Linked DNA regions of Homo sapiens: regions 2, 3 and 4 are each linked to region 1. The links are contacts of gene promoters, found by promoter capture Hi-C in human tissues and cell types (Jung and others, 2019). All regions are on one chromosome and are shown on one strand. Each heading gives the region's core, a stretch centred on a gene start or on the middle of the fragment in contact. The rest is flanking DNA. Distances are from core to core; before and after follow the strand shown. Region 1 holds the start of LONP2 (lon peptidase 2, peroxisomal). Region 2 has its middle 91 kb from the start of N4BP1. Region 3 overlaps N4BP1 (NEDD4 binding protein 1). Region 4 overlaps N4BP1 (NEDD4 binding protein 1).

What was found. Contacts are between HindIII fragments. The study calls those that stand out against the background at their distance.
Region 2: a contact is called between a fragment that was not itself captured here and the fragment with the promoter of LONP2 in region 1, in 2 of the 25 tissues and cell types used here (dorsolateral prefrontal cortex and neural progenitor cells).
Region 3: a contact is called between a fragment that was not itself captured here and the fragment with the promoter of LONP2 in region 1, in 5 of the 25 tissues and cell types used here (dorsolateral prefrontal cortex, liver, lymphoblastoid cells and 2 more).
Region 4: a fragment that was not itself captured here is called in contact with the fragment with the promoter of LONP2 in region 1 in 2 of the 25 tissues and cell types used here (dorsolateral prefrontal cortex and lymphoblastoid cells).

Annotation. Positions count from the first base shown.
Region 1 is chr16:48,241,539-48,246,345 of GRCh38, forward strand. LONP2 (lon peptidase 2, peroxisomal) reads left to right here and starts at 2,762. Exons shown (of 15, transcript NM_031490.5): 1 at 2,762-3,083. The coding sequence starts at 2,851. The region is part of intron 1 of ABCC11 (ATP binding cassette subfamily C member 11); the gene reads right to left. RefSeq lists an enhancer at 2,698-2,787. The HindIII fragment of the contact is 28,002 bases long and covers 1-4,807 here.
Region 2 is chr16:48,516,685-48,521,977 of GRCh38, forward strand. No RefSeq gene overlaps it. Among named protein-coding and RNA genes, the nearest start is that of N4BP1, 91 kb to the right of the region's middle. The HindIII fragment of the contact is 4,119 bases long and covers 1-3,413 here.
Region 3 is chr16:48,559,441-48,564,597 of GRCh38, forward strand. It overlaps N4BP1 (NEDD4 binding protein 1), which reads right to left. Exons shown (of 7, transcript NM_153029.4): 2 at 1,314-3,004. Among named protein-coding and RNA genes, the nearest start is that of N4BP1, 48 kb to the right of the region's middle. The HindIII fragment of the contact is 5,231 bases long and covers 1-4,759 here.
Region 4 is chr16:48,589,323-48,594,016 of GRCh38, forward strand. All of the region lies in intron 1 of N4BP1 (NEDD4 binding protein 1), which reads right to left. Among named protein-coding and RNA genes, the nearest start is that of N4BP1, 19 kb to the right of the region's middle. The HindIII fragment of the contact is 4,938 bases long and covers 237-4,694 here.

The sequences.
Region 1 (4,807 bases), core at 1,512-4,011:
AACTACTTTAAAGCTCATATAGAACCAAAAAAGAGCCGGCATTGCCAAGACAATCGTAAGCCAAAAGAACAAAGCTGGAGGCAACATGCTACCTGACTTCAAACTATACTACAAGGCTATGGTAACCAAAACAGCATGGTACTGGTACCAAAACAGAGATATAGACCAATGGAACAGAACAGAGCCCTCAGAAATAATACCACACATCTACAACCATCTGATCTCTGACAAACCTGACAAAAACAAGAAATGGGGAAAGGATTCCCTATTTAATAAATGGTGCTGGGAAAACTGGCTAGCCATATGTAGAAAGCTGAAACTGGATCCCTTCCTTATACCTTATACAAAAATTAATTCAAGATGGATTAAAGACTTAAATGTTAGACCTAAAACCATAAAATTCCTAGAAGAAAACCTAGGCAATATCATTCAGGACATAAGCATGGGCAAGGACTTCATGACTAAAACACCAAAAGCAATGGCAACAAAAGCCAAAATTGACAAATGGGATCTAATTAAACTAAAGAGCTTCTGCACAGCAAAATAAACCACCATCAGAGTGAACAGGCAACCTACAGAATGGAAGAAAATTTTTACAATCTACCCATCTGACAAAGGGCTAATATCCAGAATCTACAAAGAACTTAAACAAGTTTACAAGAAAAAATCAAACAACCCCATCTAAAAGTGGGCAAAGGATATGAACAGACACTTCTCAAAAGAAGACATTTATGCAGCCAACAGACACATGAAAAAATGCTCATCATCAGTGGCCATCAGAGAAATGCAAATCAAAACCACAATGAGATACCATCTCACACCAGTTAGAATGGCAATCATTAAAAAGTCAGGAAACAACAGGTGCTGGAGAGGATGTGGAGAAATAGGAACACTTTTACACTGTTGGTGGGACTGTAAACTAGTTCAACCATTGTGGAAGACAGTGTGGCAATTCCTCAAGGATCTGGAACTAGAAATACCATTTGACCCAGCCATCCCATTGCTGGGTATATACCCAAAGGATTATAAATCATGCTGCTATAAAGACACACACACACGTATGCTTACTGCGGCACTATTCGCAATAGCAAAGACTTGGAACCAACCCAAATGTCCATCAATGATAGACTGGATTAAGAAAATGTGGCACATATACACCATGGAATACTATGCAGCCATAAAAAAGGATGAGTTCATGTCCTTTGTAGGGACATGGATGATGCTGGAAACCATCATTCTGAGCAAACTATCGCAAAGACCGAAAACAAAACACTGCAAGTTCTCACTCATAGGTGGCAACTGAACAATGAGAACACTTGGACACAGGGTGGGGAACATCACACTCAGGGGCCTGTCGTTGGGTGGTGGGGAGTGGGGGGGAAGGGATACCATTAGGAGATATACCTAATGTAAATGACGAGTTAGTGAGTGCAGCAAACCAACATGGCACATGTATACATATGTAACAAACCTGTACGTTGTGCACATGTACCCTAGAACTTAAACTATAATAAAAAATAAAATTAAATTAAAAACAGAAAAAAAATAAAAGTATCAAGGTTGTAAAAAAAAAAAAAATTGGACGGGCGCAGTGGCTCAGGCCTGTAATCCCAGCACTTTTGGGAGGCCAAGGCGGGCAGATCACGAGGTCAGGAGATTGAGACCATCCTGGCTAACATGGCGAAACCCCGTCTCTACTAAAAATACAAAAAATTAGCCGGGCGTGGTTGCGGGTGCCTGTAGTCCCCAGCTACTCGGGAGGCTGAAGCAGGAGAATGGCATGAACCCGGGAGGCGGAGCTTGCAGTGAGCCGAGATCTCGCCACTACACTCCAGCCTGGGTGACAGAGCGAGACTCCGTCTCAAAAAAAAAAAAAAAAAAAAAAAATTGAGGACTTGCCACAGATTAGAGAACACCTAGGAGATTTCATAACAAAACACCTAGGAGATTTCACAACAGGATCCTGGATATTGGATCCTGGACCAGATCCAATGAAGGACATTAGTGGGAAAACTGGCAAAATTTGGGTAAGGCCTATAGGTTAAACGATAATAATGTTAATTTCCTGGTTTTGATCATTGAACTATGATTATGTAAGATGATAACAGACGAAACTGGGTGAAAGGTATATAGGAACTCTGCTGTAGTTTTGTACATCTAAAATCAATTCGGGCCGGGCACGTTGGCTCACGCCTGTAATCCCAGCACTTTGGGAGGCCGAGGTGGACGGATCGCTTGAGGTCAGGAGTTAAAGACCAGCCTGGCCAACATGGTGAAATCCCCTCCCTACTAAAAATACAACAATTAGCTGGGTGTGGTGGCGGGCATCTGTAATCCCAGCTACTCGGGAGGCTGAGGCAGGAGAATCGCTTGAACCCGGGAGGCAGAGGCTGCAAGCCGTGGGTATCGCGCCATTGCACTCCAGCCTCCGCGACAGAGCGAGAATCTGTCTCAGAATAAATAAATAAATAAATAAATAAATAATTAGTTCGAATCAAAAGTTAAAAACACTTCAAGTATATGTAAAAAATCGAAGAAAACGTTAAAAACACTTCAAGTATATACAATTCAAATAAGATCATCCTTCCAAATATACTCTGTAAGTGAGGCGAAGGTCGCTGCACGCTTGAGTGCACGTCTTTCCGCATAGGTAGGACGCTCAAGTCTTACCGGGAGGCTCTCCTAGAGAGCAGCGCGAAGCCATGGCTTTTGGGCCCGGGGACGGACCGTAGCGCGTAGCCGGAAGCGGAGGCGTGGAGGCGGGTCTGAGGTTTGGTGACTGCGGGGCAGGCCGGGGGCAGCTGTCTGTCTGGCTCTTTTTGACAGCCCCCAGTGCGAAAGGCTGCCAGCATGTCATCAGTGAGCCCCATCCAGATCCCCAGTCGCCTCCCGCTGCTGCTCACCCACGAGGGCGTCCTGCTGCCCGGCTCCACCATGCGCACCAGCGTGGACTCGGCCCGCAACCTGCAGCTGGTGCGGAGCCGCCTTCTGAAGGGCACGTCGCTGCAAAGCACCATCCTGGGCGTCATCCCCAACACGCCTGACCCCGCCAGCGACGCGCAGGACCTGCCGCCGCTGCACAGGTAGGCCTGGCTGCCCCCGCGGCGGCGGCGGGCGGCGCGGCCTCCTCCGGGGACCTGGGCCCAGGCCACGGCCTGCCTTGAGCGCGAGGCTCAGTTCGGGGCGGCCTTCGCGGCTCGGTTCCGCCTCTCTGGTGCTATCACTTGCAAAATGGGGATGTCAGATACCTGCCCCATGACCATGAATGAGATCGTTCATGAAGTAGTGCCTGACACCTGGTGAAACTACGCAGTTCCCTACCGTTCTGGATAATTTAATTTGAATCCTCTTCCCCCTCTCCGCAATTCCTCGCCCTCGGTCTTCAGCCTCCTAGGCCAGTGCTTTTAACTTTCCAGGCCCTTTCTTTCTCCCCGGTGATCTCTGCCTTCACTTGCCTTCGCTTTTCACCTTTCTCCCCACTGCCCTTTACTCCTATCCGCCTCCCCTTTTCTGTCACCCATCATTTTTGTCCGCTGAGGCATTCTCTGCTCCGTGAGTTTTAACTTTTCCTGTTTCATTCCTAAACTGCACTATTTGTGGGTGCCTTTCTTCTATACTCCCTGCCACCCTTCTCCTTCTCCCCCTAATCCTTCTGTTTCCCTTTGTAAAGGGCCTTTACTGCTCACATTTTCGCTGGTCCCCCTTTCTGGAACTTTCCTAGCTTCTCACCTCTGCTCCTTCACTCATAACATTTCTTAGGCCCCAGGCTTACTACTATATTGCCCAGTACCCTCGCCCTATTGGTGTGACTTTGGGTGAGAGCTTTAACCTCTATTTCTTTTATTCTGCAATTTGGAAACTGACAGCATCCATCTCTTAGGCAAGTTATGAAGAATAAATTGAATAATGTGTATATTCCACTTTGCACCATGCATGATGGATGACTTTGCTGTCCAGTACTGTGTAGTGCATGTGGCTCGTCAAATTGAGATGATAGAATTGCCAGTTGTCCTGGTTTGCTGCGATTGTCTGTTTTAGCATTGAAAGTCCTATGTTTTAGCCCCTCCGTCCCAGGGAAACCAGGAGGTTGGTCACCCTAAATGTGCTGTAAGTGTACAATACACGCCAGATTTTGAAAAAACTTTTTGATTAATACATTTTATATGGATTAAATGTTGGAAAGGTAATATTTTGAGTACTTGGGGTTAATAAAATGTTAAGATTTCTGCTGTTTTTACTTTATAATGTGGCCACTAAAATTTTATATGTGGTCCACATTATATTTTTATTGGACAATGCTGGTATATCGTATGCTCTCAACAAGTATCTTCAAACTCACCTGCCAAGCACCCGCCTCCTATTCCTAACTCTACTGGAGGTGTTGTGTTTTCAGTTTAGAGCTTCTCCTTTCCTGGCAGTTATCCCTTATTTTTAAATTAGGGGTTCCTGACTCTGAATGGATTTCCGGAGGGTTGGACATGTCTTATTTTTCCTCAAAATCTTGTGACTATGTACATTTTTTTAGGAGAATCCTTTGCTTTCTTCAGATTCTCAAAGGAGACTGGTACCTCCCCCCACCCCCGTTAAAAGAAAGCAAAACAAAGCAACAAAGACCAACAAACCTTCCACAGCAGCCCAGTATTCATTTATATTGTAAAAGCCTTGATTTTCTCAAGCATGGAAAATATTTTGGCTCCCATCTGACCTGCTTTGGTTATTGCCTGAGTGGAATTGGTCACATTCCAAGTTTCAGTACTCTTTGATAAATTGTATTGGATTCTAGTTTCCCAACATACGACTCTGCTCC
Region 2 (5,293 bases), core at 104-2,603, 270 kb after region 1:
AGGGTGAGGCAGGAGAATCGCTTGAACCCGGGAGGCAGAGGTTGTGGTGAGCCGAGATTGCACCACTGCACTCCAGCCTGGGCGACAGAGCAAGACTCCGTCTCAAAAAAAATAAATAAATAAAAACAAAAAAAATCTTAATACATTTAAAAGAATAGAAACCATCCAATGTCTGGCCTCAGACCACAGTGGAATTAAACTAGAAATCAGTAAGAGAAAGATAGCTAGAAAATTCCCAAATACTTGGGGATTAAACAACACACTTCTGCATAACACAAAGGTCAAAAAAGAACTCTCAAGAAAAATTTAAAAATATTTTGAACTAAGTGAAAATGAGAACACAACTAATCAAAATTGTGTGATGTAGCGAAAGTAGTGTTTAGAGAGAAATTGATAATATTGAATGTATGTATCAAAAAAATAGAGATCTAAAATCAACAATTTAAGCTTCCCCTTTAGGAAACTAGAAAAAAAAATTAATTTACACAAAGCAATTTTACACAATTATTTGTGTAATTAATTTACACAAATTTGTGTAATTTGTGTAATTAATTTACACAAATTAAATTTACACAAAACAGAAGAAAAGAAATAATAAAAACCAAAGTAAAACTCAATGAAATTGAAAATAGGAAATCAATAGAGAAAATCAATGAAACTAAAGGGTGGGTCTTTGCAAGACCGATAAAATTCATAAGCCTCTAGCCAGACTAGGAAAAGAGAGCAGACACAAATGACTAATATCAGAACTGTAATTCACTACAGATGAATTAAAAGAATAAATTCATGAGTTAAAAGAATAAAAAATAATATTATGAACAATTCTATGCCCACCAATTTTATGATCTAGATAAAATACACCCATTCCTTGAAACATATAATCTGCCAAGCTGCAATGGAGCAAAGATAGTCTTTTCAACAAATGGTGCTGGAATAACTGAACATCCACATGTCAAAAAATGAATCTAGGCTGGGTGCAGTGACTCATACCTGTAATCCCAGCACTTTGGGATGCTGGGGCAAGAGGATCCCTTGAGCCCAGGAGTTCAAGACAAGCTTGGGCAATATAGTGAGATCTTGTCTGTACAAAAAAAATAGAAAAAGTAACCAGTTGTGGTGGTGCATACCTGTGGTCCCAGCTACTCGGGAGGCTGAGGCAGGAGGATTGGTTGAGCCCAAGAGGTCAAGGCTGCAGTGTGCTGTGATTGTGCCACTGTACTACTACCATCTGGGTGACAGAGTGAGACCCTGTCTCAAAAAAAAAAAAAAAATCTAGACACAGAACTTATACTCTTCATAAAAATTAACTCAAAATGGATCATAGACCTAAATGTACAAATGCAAAACTATAAAACTCCTAGAAGATGACATAGGAGAGAACCTTGATGGCCTTGAGTATGGCAATGAATTTTTAGATGCAACACCAAAGACCTGATCCATGAAATAAATAATTGATAAGCTGGACTTGATTTAAATTTAAAAACTTCTGCTCCATGAAAGACAATGTCAAGACAATGACAAGACAAGCCAGAGACTGGGAGAAAATACTTGCAAAAAACATATCTGATGAAGGACTATTATCCAAATATACAAAGAACTCTTGAAACCCAACAATAAGACAATGAATAATGCTATTTAAGAATGGGCCAATGGCCTTATCAGATACTTCACAAAAGGAGACATACAGACAGCAAATAGCATATGAAAAGATGCTCCACATCATATGTCATCAGGGAAATGCAAATTAAAACAATGAGATACCACTATGAACCTATTAGAATGGCCAAAATCCAGAACACAAACAACACTAAATGCTGATGAGGATGTGGAACAACAGAAACTCTCATTCACTCCTGGTGGGAATGTAAAATGGTACAGCCATTTTGGAAGACATTTTGGCAGGTTTTTATAACACTAAACATCATCTCACCATTTGGTCTAGCAATTGCACTCCTGGGTATTTACCCAAAGGAGCTGAAAACTTATGCCCACACGAAATGCTGCAATAGGCCAGGTGCAGTGGCTCAGGCCTGTAATCCCAGCACTTTGGGAGGCCAAGGCGAGAGGATTGCTTGAGCCCAGGAGTTCGAGACCAGCCTGGGCAAAACAGCTCAACCGCATCTCTACAAAAAAGTTGAAAAATTAGCTGGGTGTGGTGGCGTGCACCTGTAGTTTCAAGTACTCAAAAGGCTGAGGTGAGAAGATCGCTTGAGCCTGAGAGGTCAAGGCTGCAGTGAGCCATGATTGCACCACTGCACTCCAGCCTGGGTGACAGTGTGAGACCCTGTCTCAAAAAAGCAAAAAAAGCTGCACACAGATGTTTGTAGCAGCTTTATTTATAACTGTCAAAATTTGGAAGCAACCAAGATGTCCTTCAGTAGTGAATGGATAAATAAACTTTGGTACATTCAAACAATGGAGTATTATTCAACATTAAAAAGAAATTAGCTATGAACCCACAGAGAGACATGGAAGAAATTTAAATGAACATTATTAGGTGAAAGAAGCCAATCTGAAAAGGCTACTTACTGTATGATTCCAACTATATGACATTCTGGAAAAGGCAAACCTATGGGAGCAATAAAAAGATCAGTGGTTGCAGCCGGGTGTGGTGGCTCATGCCTGTAATTCTAGCACTTTGGGAGGCCGAGGCTGGCGGATTGCCTGAGCTCAGGAGATTGCCTGAGCTCAGGAGTTTGCCTGAGCTCAGGAGTTCGAGACCAGCCTGGTCAACATGGTGAAACCCTATCTCTACTAAAATATAAAAAATTAGCCAGGTGTGGCAGCGTTTGCCTGTAGTCCCAGCTATTTGGGAGGCTGAGGCAGGAGAATCGCTTGAACCCAGGAGGCAGAGGTAGCAATGAGCCGAGATCACACCACTGCACTCTAGCCTATACAACAGAGCGAGACTCCGTCTCCAAAAAAAAAAAAAAAAAAAAAAAAAAAAAAAGATCAGTGGTTGCTAGAAGTTAAGGGGAGGGAAAGATGAACAGGGGGAGCACAGAGGACGTTTGGGGCAGGGCAACTCCTCTAATGTGTGGTACTGCAGTAGTGGACACGTGGCATTATACATTTGTCAAAACCCATAGAATGCACAATACCCAGAATGAATTCTCATGCAAACTATGAACTTTGGGTGATGGTGTGTGGAGGCAGGTTCATCACTTTTAATGAATGTACCAATCTGTTGGGGGATGTTGATGGTGAGGGAGGCTGCTGGGCATGTGTGGGAACAGGGTGTATATGGGAACTCTCTGTACTTTCCATTCGATTTTTCTGTGAACCCAAAACTGTTCTAAGAAATAACATTTACTAATTTAAAAATTTTTTAAATGCTGGGCCTGGTAGTGCATGCCAATAGTCCCAACTACTAGGGAGGCTGAGGCAGGAGGATTGCTTGATCCCAGGACTTTGGGTTCAACCTGGGCAGCATAGTGAGACCCCTGTCTCTAAAGACAAAACAAAGTTCAAAAAAAAAAAAAAAGGCAGAGGAATGCCAGGCAGTTTTCCTTCTTGCCTCCCAGCACTCAGCAGTCACCCATCTCGGCTCCCTGGACTACCTGGGGCCATGTTGTTCATCCCAGCAATGCGGAGGGAGGCCTGCTAAGCTCAGACCTTGGGAACCTGGATAAATAAGGCTCAGCTGCTCTCAGGGCGTTCACAGTCTAGTGCGGCTGTTCTCAGCCTGGTTGTACCTTACAGTCACAGGAGGAGATTTAAAATTGTCCCTGCCCAGGCCATACTCCAGACAGCTGAATCAGAATCTCTGGGGGTGGTAGCCGGGCACAGTGGCTCATGTCTGTAATCCCAGCACTTTGGGAGGCCGAGGCAGCCAGATCACTTGAGCTCAGGAGTTTGAGACCAGCCTGGCCAACATGGTGAAACCCCGTCTCTACTAAAATTACAAAAATTAGCTGGGCATGGTGGTGCACACTGGTAGTCCCAGCTACTCGAGAGGCTGAGGTGGGAGGATTGCTTGAGCCCAGTGGGCAGCGGTTTCAGTGGGCCAAGATTGCACCACTGCACTCCAACCTGAGCAACAGAGTGAGACTCCATTTAAAAAAAAAAGCTGATTTAAAGTTCCTCCAGTGAGAAAGACTGACTGGGGGAGAAACAGAGCTATGAACAAGCAGATACAACCCACGGAAGAGTTCCTCAGGTGACATCGCTGAGGGCTGGTAACGTGGCCTGGGAGCTACGGAGAAGCTGTTCTGGAGAAAGTGATTTAAAGGAGGAGTCGGAGCATGTCAAGCAAAGCAGGTGGAGTGGAGAGATGTCCCTGCAGAGGGGACAACAGGTACCTAGGCCAGGAGGAACAGGGAGGGCCTATAGTCTACACTAAGGAATTTGGACTCTACCCCAGGTAAACGGGGAGCCATTGGAGGCTTTTATTTATTTATTTTTTTCCTTTGAGATGGAGTTTCACTCTTGTTGCCCAGGCTGCAGTGCAATGGCGCGATCTCTGCTCACTGCAACCTCTGCCTCCCGGGTTCAAGTGATTCTCTGCCTCAGCCTTCCGAGTAGCTGGGATTGCAGGCTTGCACCACCACCATGCCCAGCTAATTTTGTATTTCAAATAGAGACGAGGTTTCACAATGTTGGTCAGGCTGGTCTCAAACTCCTGACCTCGGGTGATCCACCTGCCTTGGCCCCCCCAAAGTGCTGGGATTACAGGCATGAGCCACCATGCCCAGCCCATTGAGGGGCTTTAAGCAGAGGAAGAATGTGGCCCACTAGGGAGCATGTTGGAGACTGGCTTGCAGAGGCCAGGCTGGGAACCTCGAACTTTAGGCTTGGAACCAGCTCTTCGAACTTGGAGCTTGGAACCAGCTCATTCCTCCATTGATTGCTTGTTTCCAAACTTAACTGAAATGTTGCAGGCAGGACCATCGGTGTCCCTTGGCAAATAGTACGTGCTCAGTAACCATTTCATCGTTGATGTTATTTGTCGACCAAGTCAATGCGATGCACAAAAATGTCCTAGTGGAAACAGGAAAGGGAGTACTAGAGAGGATGGGACTCAGTGCCTGATTCTTCCTGTCTTCACGTACCAGTCAGGCCCTGTGGAGCCACCATGGGTGACTCTGAGACCATCTTCCAAAGGTTGGGAGAGGGAATTTGGAGAGGACAGAGTGGTGAGGCAAGGGGGTCCCAGGTGGAAATCTGTACTCCCAGGAGTCAACCCCACCTACTATGGGGCTGGCTTATTCCCAGGAATTGACAGTTTTCTAGGGGCTAAGGTGGGAGACTCACCTAGGGGGGACCCCAATTTCCAGTCCTGCAGAAGGGAAGT
Region 3 (5,157 bases), core at 894-3,393, 320 kb after region 1:
AGACCTTGAATATTTCTTCAAAAATCAATGGTGTTAAATTAAATTAAATTTGGCCTAAAGGTGCCTCCATACATAGTGACCTGCAACCTTAGTATGTGAACAAATGGCAACCTAAGAGTATTCTTGTAAAAAAAAATGGCTGAGTCTCAGCCAATCACAGCAGCCAAGCTTCAGCCAATCACAGGCTGCCAATTGTTCAGACCACTTCTACATAAGGCAAATGCCTCATCACAGGATGCCTGGATAAGGCAAATGCCAACCCGTAGGTAATCAAGCTGTTTCTGCAGGGCAATTCCCTTTTCTGCCTATAAATACTGCCAGCCCTCATTGCTGGGTGAAGCTCTCTGAACCTCTCCTGGTTCAGGGTGCTGCCAGATTCGTAAATCATTGTTCGTGCAGATCAACTCTGCTAAATGTAATTTGCCCTAAGTTTTTCTTTTAACAATGGGGTGACTGGTTTTGAAAACTGAAGGCAGACTTTACATAGTTGTTGAAATGATATGGTAAAGATGTCCTTAAGGACAGGTCAGAAGGCAACAGATTGCAGCAACTGAAACTCCGAACAGTTAAGTGACCTGCCCCAAATCAAACAGCTGGTCCACAGTGCAGGGAGGCTCTTGACCCTCACACTCTCCTTAGCCACGATCTTAAACTGCCCCTTAGAAAAAAAACCCAAGCGTACAGGTTTCAAATCAGAGGATTTTCAACTAAGAGGAGTTCCAAGACAGGCTAACTAGAAACAACAGGTTCATTAAATGATGTCTTTTACTAAAAACAAATATTATAAACTTTTAGTAAGAGCAGAGGCCCACAGTGAAGCTCAAAGTGACTACTTTTGAAAGGAAATTGCCATTGCTCTATCCACAGAAATACATCACACCTGTTACCACTGCACACTCTTGGCTAGAGATCAGGCATACTCCAGCATAATAAGATAAAAAAAAATCCTTTTGCTTTAAGCTGTGTTCTCTTATTTAGATTAGAACATAATGGTACTCACAATATTAAGAATTTAATGACTTAAAAGTCACTATACTACATATCACTGAGCAATGCAACGTGAAAAGATAATTTTCTATCCTCTCTTGCCCTTAGAAATTAAGTTCAGCAGGGTGAAGTAAAGTTCATGAATCCAGAAGATGGACTGACAAAACCTTTCCAACCAGTTGGTTCCCATTCCCCTCCACCATCCGACCCTAAGGCTACAGATCAACTATATACAACATGTATGTATAGTTCCCATATACATGTGATTCTGAGACACCATTTAGAGCCCTATTTAAAATAAAATAATCTGCAGAGAATGGACTTACGTAATTGCAACATTGCTCCCATCTATAACAATGTGTTTCAAATCCGTTCTCCCTGGTTCATTTTTTAATTCCAGCTTGTAGGGTATTTTTAGAGTATCTCGAAACCTTTGAACCCCAGTAACTGAGGAATCAATATGATCAGAAGGTCCTGCCGACCTTGCATCAGTAACCGAAGGTAACAGCTGGGGCAGTGGCATTGGTGGAGAAAGGGTTGAGCAATTTGGCTTAGAATGAGGAGAACTACAACATCCTAAACGTTTTTCACAGGCAGATTTCATATTATTTGGAAGCAAGGGTTCTGGCTGCTGGTGTAAACCATTTTCAGGAAAAAGTGGAACTCTGGGCTGGTGACTTGAAGCTCCCCTTGAAACAAAATTGACTTCTTTGGGACTTGGAGAGGCAACAGAAGGTGAAAGGCCATCAGTTTCAGGGTCTGTGTTACAAATGTAGTTCTGGTTTGAACCCCAGACTTCATGTTTCTGTTCTATTGGCACTGTTCTGAAAGTATTAATTCTACAATTTGAGGTACATGGTTTAGCTTCCACTTTGAATGGTAACTGAGAAAATTTTTCTACCATATTTTGCTGTGTGTGAGCCTGTGTTTTCTTTGGAGTGGAATCAGTTGTAAGCTCATTTGTGCTGCTATAAACACCTTTATTTTTGGTTTTGTTGGTCTCTGGATACACTGTACCAGCTGAAAATTCTCTGTCTTCTTGGAATCTTTTATTTTCTTTTTCAATTTCCTCTAAGAGCAATAATGGTTCAGTAGATGGTCCATACACCTTAATGACCTTTTCAACAATTTCTTGGGAGTAGCCCATGGTTTTAAAAAAGTTTACGAGGATGTTGTATTCCATTTCCTCAGTAGTTTCTTTTATATCTGGACTTAAATTTTCAGAATCAGCAGAAGAATCAGATAGGTCAGCTATTACATTTCCAGCCAATGTCTTAGCATCGTGTAAAATCTCCCCCTCCTGAACATTTTCCAAAGAAAACTGCTTCTTCGTATGCCTTTCTTCAGAATCAGAAAATCTCCTTTTCTGACAAATTCTCTCATTGGAAAGTGCCTCTTCATCTGGGGTTAGACCATTTATTGGATCAAAAAGCACATCTGGTGAGCTAGAAAGGACTGTGTCCATTTGTTTTGTAAGCTCAGAAACAGGAGTCCCAGCTTTATTTCTTGCCTCTTCCTGCAAAACAGTTTCATCTCTAGAAATATTCAGCCCTGTGGCAGCATTCTGTGTAAACTCTGTTTGTTGAGAATCTCTCATTTCAATAACCTCATCATCTCCTGTTTCAAAGAGATTCTCCTCACCTTGTGTGAGTGTCAAAAGTTCTTTTTTCAAGGAAGTGGGCAAAATCAACAAATCCATTGTGTAATTGTCTGCATGGGCTTCAACAAATTGTTTGAATTCCCTTTTCACCTCTGATTCTTTCTGACTACTGGGTAGGTTCTCTTTATTTTCAAAGAGCTTTACAAATTGTTGAATGTGACTCCTAGCCATGACCACAGCCTCAGCACTTCCTCTGATGCCAAGAAGGCCAATGTCCAGAATGCAGAGGTCAGCACAAGTATCCTGAATCAAGCTTTTCAGAAACAGGCTCTCTGCCCCAACAAAAATGCAGTGCATGTCCTTGGGGTAACATTCTCTTTCTTCTAGTTCAGGTTCACAGATTCCTTTAATATATTCCTGTAAAGAGAAAATAAGAAATTAGGTCAATTTACAAAAGTTCCTTATAGCACATAATAAATTACCATGTAACTACAAATGTCAGGCCGATTTTATAAAAATCACAAGCATGTTTGTAATTTTGAACAAAATGTCATGTTTTAAATAAAACATTGAAAATAACAGATATAACTTGCTTAAACCATCTTTAGAGGAACTGAAAACTCTGCATCCAAATCTAAAAGGTGGGTATTTTGTAACATTTTATGCAATGTGATCTTAGGGATTTGCTGAGCTACACAGTGAATAATCCCAAGGCTGGATTTATTTACATCTCTAATGAAAAGACATCTTTGCTTGCTACCAGTAATTTATTACTTCCATGACATAATCAAGAGATAAGATAATCAAATCAAGTGATTGACTACAGAACAAATCTTGACTTTTGCTACTATTACCCTTGGTTTCCAGATTTCTTGAAGGTATAAAAGAATAACATTAATTTTTTTTTTCAAAGCAAAAGCAAGTTTATTAAGAAGCAAGAATAACATTAATAAAAAATTTTTTTCCAGCTGGTTGAAACAATCTATATCCTGTATGATTTTCTGTCTGTTTTCTAAAGAAAACCAGACTGTTAAATTAAATGCAGATCTAACAGAACAAGTGAATGCTGGACAGTATTGGTGTTCTCAGATGTTGGTATTGAAATAAAAAATTTAAAAAAAAAAGTTTTCTTTTAATTTAGCCTGGGCAACATGGTGAAACCCCATTTCTACAAAAAATAAGCTGGGAATGGTGGTGTGTGCCTATAGTTCCAGCTACTTGGGAGGCTGAGATGGGAGGATCGCTTCAGCCCAGGAGACTGAGGCTGCAGTAAGCTGAGATCATGTCACTGCATTCCAGCCTGGGCCAAAGAGCGGGACCCTATCTCTAAAAAAAAATTTTTTAAATTTTTAATTGACAAATAATGATTGTATATATATATATAATTTTTTTTTTTTGAGATGGAGTTTTGTTCTAGTCACCCAGGCTGGAGTGGAATGGCGCGATCTCCCAGGTTCAAGCGACTCTTCTGCCTCAGCCTCCCAAGTAGCTGGGATTACAGGCATGTGCCACGACACCTGGCTAATTTTGTACGCTAGATGGGGTTTCACCATGTTGGCCAAGCTGGTCTTGAACTCCTGACCTCAGGTGATCCCCCTGCCTCCACCTCCCAAATTGCTGGGATTACAATTAGTTGCTACTGATTGAAACAGTCTATATCCTATGATTTTTTTGTCTGTTTTCTAAAGAAAATCAGACTGTTAAATTAAATGCAGATCTAATAGAACAAGTGAATGCTGGCGTGAGCCACTGTGCCTGGCTGATTGTATATATTCATGGGTTACACAGGGAAGTCTCAATACATATAATAATGTATAGTGATCAGAACAGGGTAATTAGCATATCCATTTCAAACATTTAGCATTTCTCTGTGTTGGGAGCACTCTATATCCTCCTTCTAGCTATTTGAAACTATATATTATTGTTAACTGTAGTCATTCTACAGTGATATGGAACACTAGAATTTATTCTCCCCAGGGAGCTGTAATTTTGTATCTATTAACAAATCTCTCCCTATCCTTCCTAGTCTCTAGTAGCCTTCTATTTTCTAATTGTTTTTTTACTGTTGAGTTTTGAGAGCTCTTTATATATCCTAAGAGTCTTTTGTCAAATATGTGGCTTGCAGATATTTTCTCCTGGTCTGTAGTTTGTCTTCCCATCCTCTTAACAGGGTGTTTTGTGACAGCAAGTTTTTACTTTTAAGGAAGTTCGGTTTTTAGATTTTATTCTTCACCAAGCCTGGGGTACTGAAGACCTCTCCAATGTTATCGTCTAAGTTTTACATTTAAACCTATGATCCATTTTTAGTACATTTTAAAAGAAGGTGTGAGGGTTAGCTTGAGCTTCACATTTTTGCCTATAGGTATAATATTGCTCTAGCACCATTTCTTGAAAAGGCTATTCTTTCACTACTGAATTGCACTTTTGTCAAAAAATCACTTTGCCATACTTGTGTGGAACTACTTGTGAGTTCCCTATTCTGTTCCAATCTGTGTAAATCTATCCCTTCATCAAGACCACACCGTTTTGATTACTGTAACTCTATAATTTCTTAAAATTGGGTAATGATT
Region 4 (4,694 bases), core at 1,456-3,955, 350 kb after region 1:
TACTTCCAACCTCTCGGGAAGGGAGAGGGGCTGAAGGTTAGTTTGATCATCAGTGCCAATGATTTAATCAATCACGCCTATGTAATGAGGCTTCCATAAAAACCCAAATGGACTGGCTTTGGAGAGTTTCAGGATAGCTAATACCTATCCTGAAGGGTGTTGTTCCTGGAGAGGGTATGGAAGCTCTAAGCCCTTTCCCTCATACCTTGCCCTATGCATCGCTTCATCTATAACCTTTGTAACAGCCTTTACAATTAACCAGTAAGTGTCTTGCCCAGAGTTCTCTGAGCTGCTTAGCTAATTAACAAAACCCATGGAGTGAGTTGTGAGAAAATCGATTTATAGCCCATCAGTCATAATCACAAAACAACCTGGGAAACTTTTCCCTAGATCCCTACAAGGGTATAGAACCTGCCAAAGGAATTCACTTTGTAGACTGGTGAAACCACCTTTGCAAAAATTATAACTGAGGAAATTATGACAGTGAAAGAGATCAGACCTAATTGACTCCATCTTGTATCTAACCTTTGGGCTGTTCTTGTTCATTGCTGGGTGTAGGTCGAAATAACCTTGGGAAGGAATTCAGTTTACGGTTTGACTCTGAAACAAAACTGGTAACAGCCCTTTCTCGGAAAGACCCCCTTCTTGCTTGGGGACCAGTCTGCCTTTGAAGGACTAACAAATTAGCTACAAGATTAGAAATGATGGTTTAGGAGTCATATAGCTTCTGGCTCCAAGAGTCTGAACCTCCCCAAATTGCTCCTGGGGATAACATCACTATTGTAAAACCTAAAATTAGTGGTTGAAATATTTTGCAGACTCTGCACTCAATGAATCAGCTGACACCACCCAGATCCATATTCTGGCTCAACCAATTCTGCCATCCCACCCAGGAACAGAAGACAGCAAGAAAACCTCACTTTGACCCCCATGATTCCATCTCCAACCTGACCAATCAGCACTCCCCACTTCCCAAGCCCCTACCTGCCAAATTATCTTTAAAAACTGATCCCTGAACGCTGGGGGAGAGGGTTTTGAGTAATAATAAAACTCTAGTCTCCCACACAGCCAGCTGTGTGTGAATTACTCTTTCTCCACTGCAGTTCCCCTGTCTTGATAAATTGGCTCTGTCTAGGCAGAGGGCAAGGTGAACCTGTTGGTTGGTTACAAATTTGGAGGCTTGTCCAGGATTGCTCTTGTGGCTACCTGCCTGTGGTTTGGTAGCACCCCTCTGGCAATGGATCCAGAGGCCAGCCCAAGCGGCTGCCTAGTTCTCTTGGATTGGTGGCTGACTCTGACACTGTCTCTACCGACAGGGCACTGCCAACCCAATGTGCATGAATTTAATTGCAATGGAGAAACAATCCTGGGCAGATGTCCAATAACTGTTCCCCTATCACAGGGTGTCTGGCTCAGTGAGTATCCTAGGCGCTGCCACAGCTCCTTCCTTCTCCCAAATGGTTCCATAGCCCCATGGTGTGGTATGTGTCTGCAGCTCCATCACCGAGTGTCTGTCTTGGTTCGGCTCCTTTGGGGTCTCAGTTGGCTCTCCTTAATTAGTAGGAAGAGTCTTAGTTAGGAAGACTTCTCCTCAATCCAGAAGATTTAGGGGAGATTTCTCAGGCAGAGAATAGGAGGATAGTTTGGAAGGGGTACTCTGAAATTATTGGTTAGGGATCTTGATTTGGAAGCTCTTCTGTCTGTCTTGTCTTTGTGTGTTTCTGTATATGGTGGGGATCTCTGAAGGAACTGCTGACAAAAGTCAAAAATTATCTTGAGCAATTAAAAGCCTTTGCAAGCTTGAAATTGGCTCCTCTAAGCACCTTCTGGGAAGAGCAATAGAACCTGCTGAATGTTGTAACTCAGTAGACAAGGCTTTTTGTCTTTTGACAGTGGCAGCCCAGGTTGAATTCTTGGCTTCGGAAATGATTCCTTTCTGGTTTGTTACTTAACTTTCCCACTTTTTGAGGGTCCCACCCCCACCCCAATGGCTAGCTTCCGATTTCCTGTCTTGAATTTTTCTTTCTCCAAACTGCCCTTGGGAAGATTCTAAATCTTGTAAAAAGAAGCTGCTTACCATCTCTTTGAAACACCTTATGGGTCCATGGTTAAGCTGTAACCTTAGCTAAAACTTATTAATTTCACATGGGAAGTTACCTGTGGCAAAGTTCAAAAGCCAGAAATATTGACTGTCCTGGCTAGAGTCTGATAATAAGAGATTTTTAAAAAAAAATTTAAAAAGAGCTCTATGGTTAAAATCAACTTAATTAAAAATGGATATCCAAGCTCTATTATTTTAAAAGGCCTTGGTTTTTTTTTTTTTTTTCTTCTTGGATATTGGTTGTTTTTGTGAAAAAGTTTTTGTTTTTCTTCTCAGTCAACTGAATTATTTCTCTACTTTGCCCTCCTGATGCCCACATGAGAGAACTTAAGATAATTTCTAACAGCTTCCACTTTGGAAAAAAAAAAAACCTGTTTTCCTCATGGAACCCCAGGAGTTGAAAGTGGATAGATCGCTCTCAAAATCTAAGGCTCTGTTCAGCTTTACATTATGTTACCTGACGTTTTTTTTTTTTTCCAAGTTTTGGGGGTATCAGAAATTACTCTGCATTATGGGAGAGCTGTTAGCCTTGGTGTGCAAAAATTAGGTACAAAATGTACTTTAAGGGATGGCTAATAACAGTTACAGAGGGATACTTGGCTCACTGCACGCTTTAATCAAAGAAGCATGCTCTTGGCCACCTGGAAGGTAAGGAGGAAAAATCCCCACACTCTACTGAGAGATGAGATTCCCATGGGGGATGGGCTAATTACAAAATGGGCTGATTGCCAGGAGGTGGAGGTTGCAATGAGCCAAGGTCACACCACTGCAATCTAGCCTGGGTGACAGGGCAAGATTCCATCCCCCCAGAACAGAAACAAAAACAAAATCGGCTGACTGGGTTTGGGTTGCCAGGCAATTAAATGCATGGTAAAAGCATTGCACCGTTTTCTCCAACAGCATTTCCCTTTTGAAAATCCAGGATGCAATATAAAAATGGGACCCTTAATTTTGAGAATGTCTTTGCTTTCCAGCTGTGCCTGCTTTTTAGGCCCTAGTAACTGCATGCTTTCCTAGCCTTGTTTCGTGAAGGGCTCTGCCCTGAAGCCAGTAATCCAACTTAAGAAACTGGCAAATGAAAAATGTTACAACTACTGGATATTCTGTCTGTGTATGTGTTGTGTGTGATGTTTATATAAAAGAGCTCTAATTAACTAGCTTAAAGAAAAATAAGCACTTAAATCAGATATTTTGTCAGAAAAACTAAAACTAATGAGCTAGTTTAGTTCATATAACTTTCGTAATCTTTTGGTAATAAACAGTTTTAAAGATTACTGGTAAATAAAAATATCTTCCAAATTTAGACATTTCATCTAAATTAGGTCAAATATTAGGTTTGCTAAATGCTCTAAGGTCATAAACTGCTTCTTTAACTTTTGAAAATTCTTCAATATACCTCCCTTGGAGCCATTACATTCTAGGTAAGGTCTGGGGACATGTGAAATTAGCCCCCATAAAGAAAATATTTTATACAAAAGAATCTTGTATGGTAAATTCTTGTCCTAAAGTAAAAAGACTGGTTGTTTAAAGAGAGGGGTGGTTAGGACAAGTCAGAAAGTCCAAGCATGTCATAGATGGTCTAAGTCATGAAAGGATTCATGAAAGGAAATTTATGCAAGAAATGTTATACAATTTAAAGATTATTAGGTCCCCTAAATATTTCATAAACTGCCACTATGACTTCACAACCTGCCTGCTTTACAGCTAGGTAAGGCCTGGGGACATGTGGAGTCAGCCAAGTCCCCTGGCTATGCTGGAAAGTCAGACCTTATCTGCACTTCTGACTGGTGTCTGTTCTAGGCTCCACACCTGGTACATAATTACAATTGCTTACTAACCAGGTTTTTCACCGAAAGTAAAAGTTGCTAAGAGTTAACAGTGTAACATGTATTTGAGACTACTGAAGAAACAGTTCTACACACAAAGTGTGTAAGGAAAGCAGAATGTACTTTTGGTAAAAGATTTTAAGAAGGCATGGGAATATGAATTTCTCACCTAAGTTTAGAGGGTTAAAGGATTGTGTTAAGTGAGGAAGGAAAAAATCTAAAGGTTTAAACAAGTTGTGAAAGGTTTATAAAAAATTAATGTGTGCAAACATATTGGCTAAAGTTAAAGAGGTATTATTCTGTTTTTCCATAAATTGAACATTGGAATAAAAGTGCAACAGAGTTTTCCTAAATCATTGTTCTGCTCTTTAACAAAAAAAATATTGTAAAGGGTTATAAAAGGTTTATAAGAATCTTACCTTATGGTCAAACTAACTAAAACTGAATAGATTTGTAAAATGCTATTAAACTAAATTTAGGCTGGACGTGGTGGCTCACACCTGTAATTCCAGCACTTTGGGAAGCCGAGGCAGGCGGATCACCTGAGGTTAGGAGTTTGAGACTAGCCTGACCAATATGGTGAAATAGTGTCTCTACTAAAAATTAGCCGGGTGTGTTGGCGGGTGCCTGTAGTGCCAGCTACTCAGGAGGCTGAGACAAAAGAGTTGCTTGAAACCAGTAGGCGGAGGTTGCAGTGAGCCGAGATCATGCCACTGCACTCCAGCCTGGGTGCCAGAGCAAGACTCCGTCTCAAAAAAAAAAAAAAA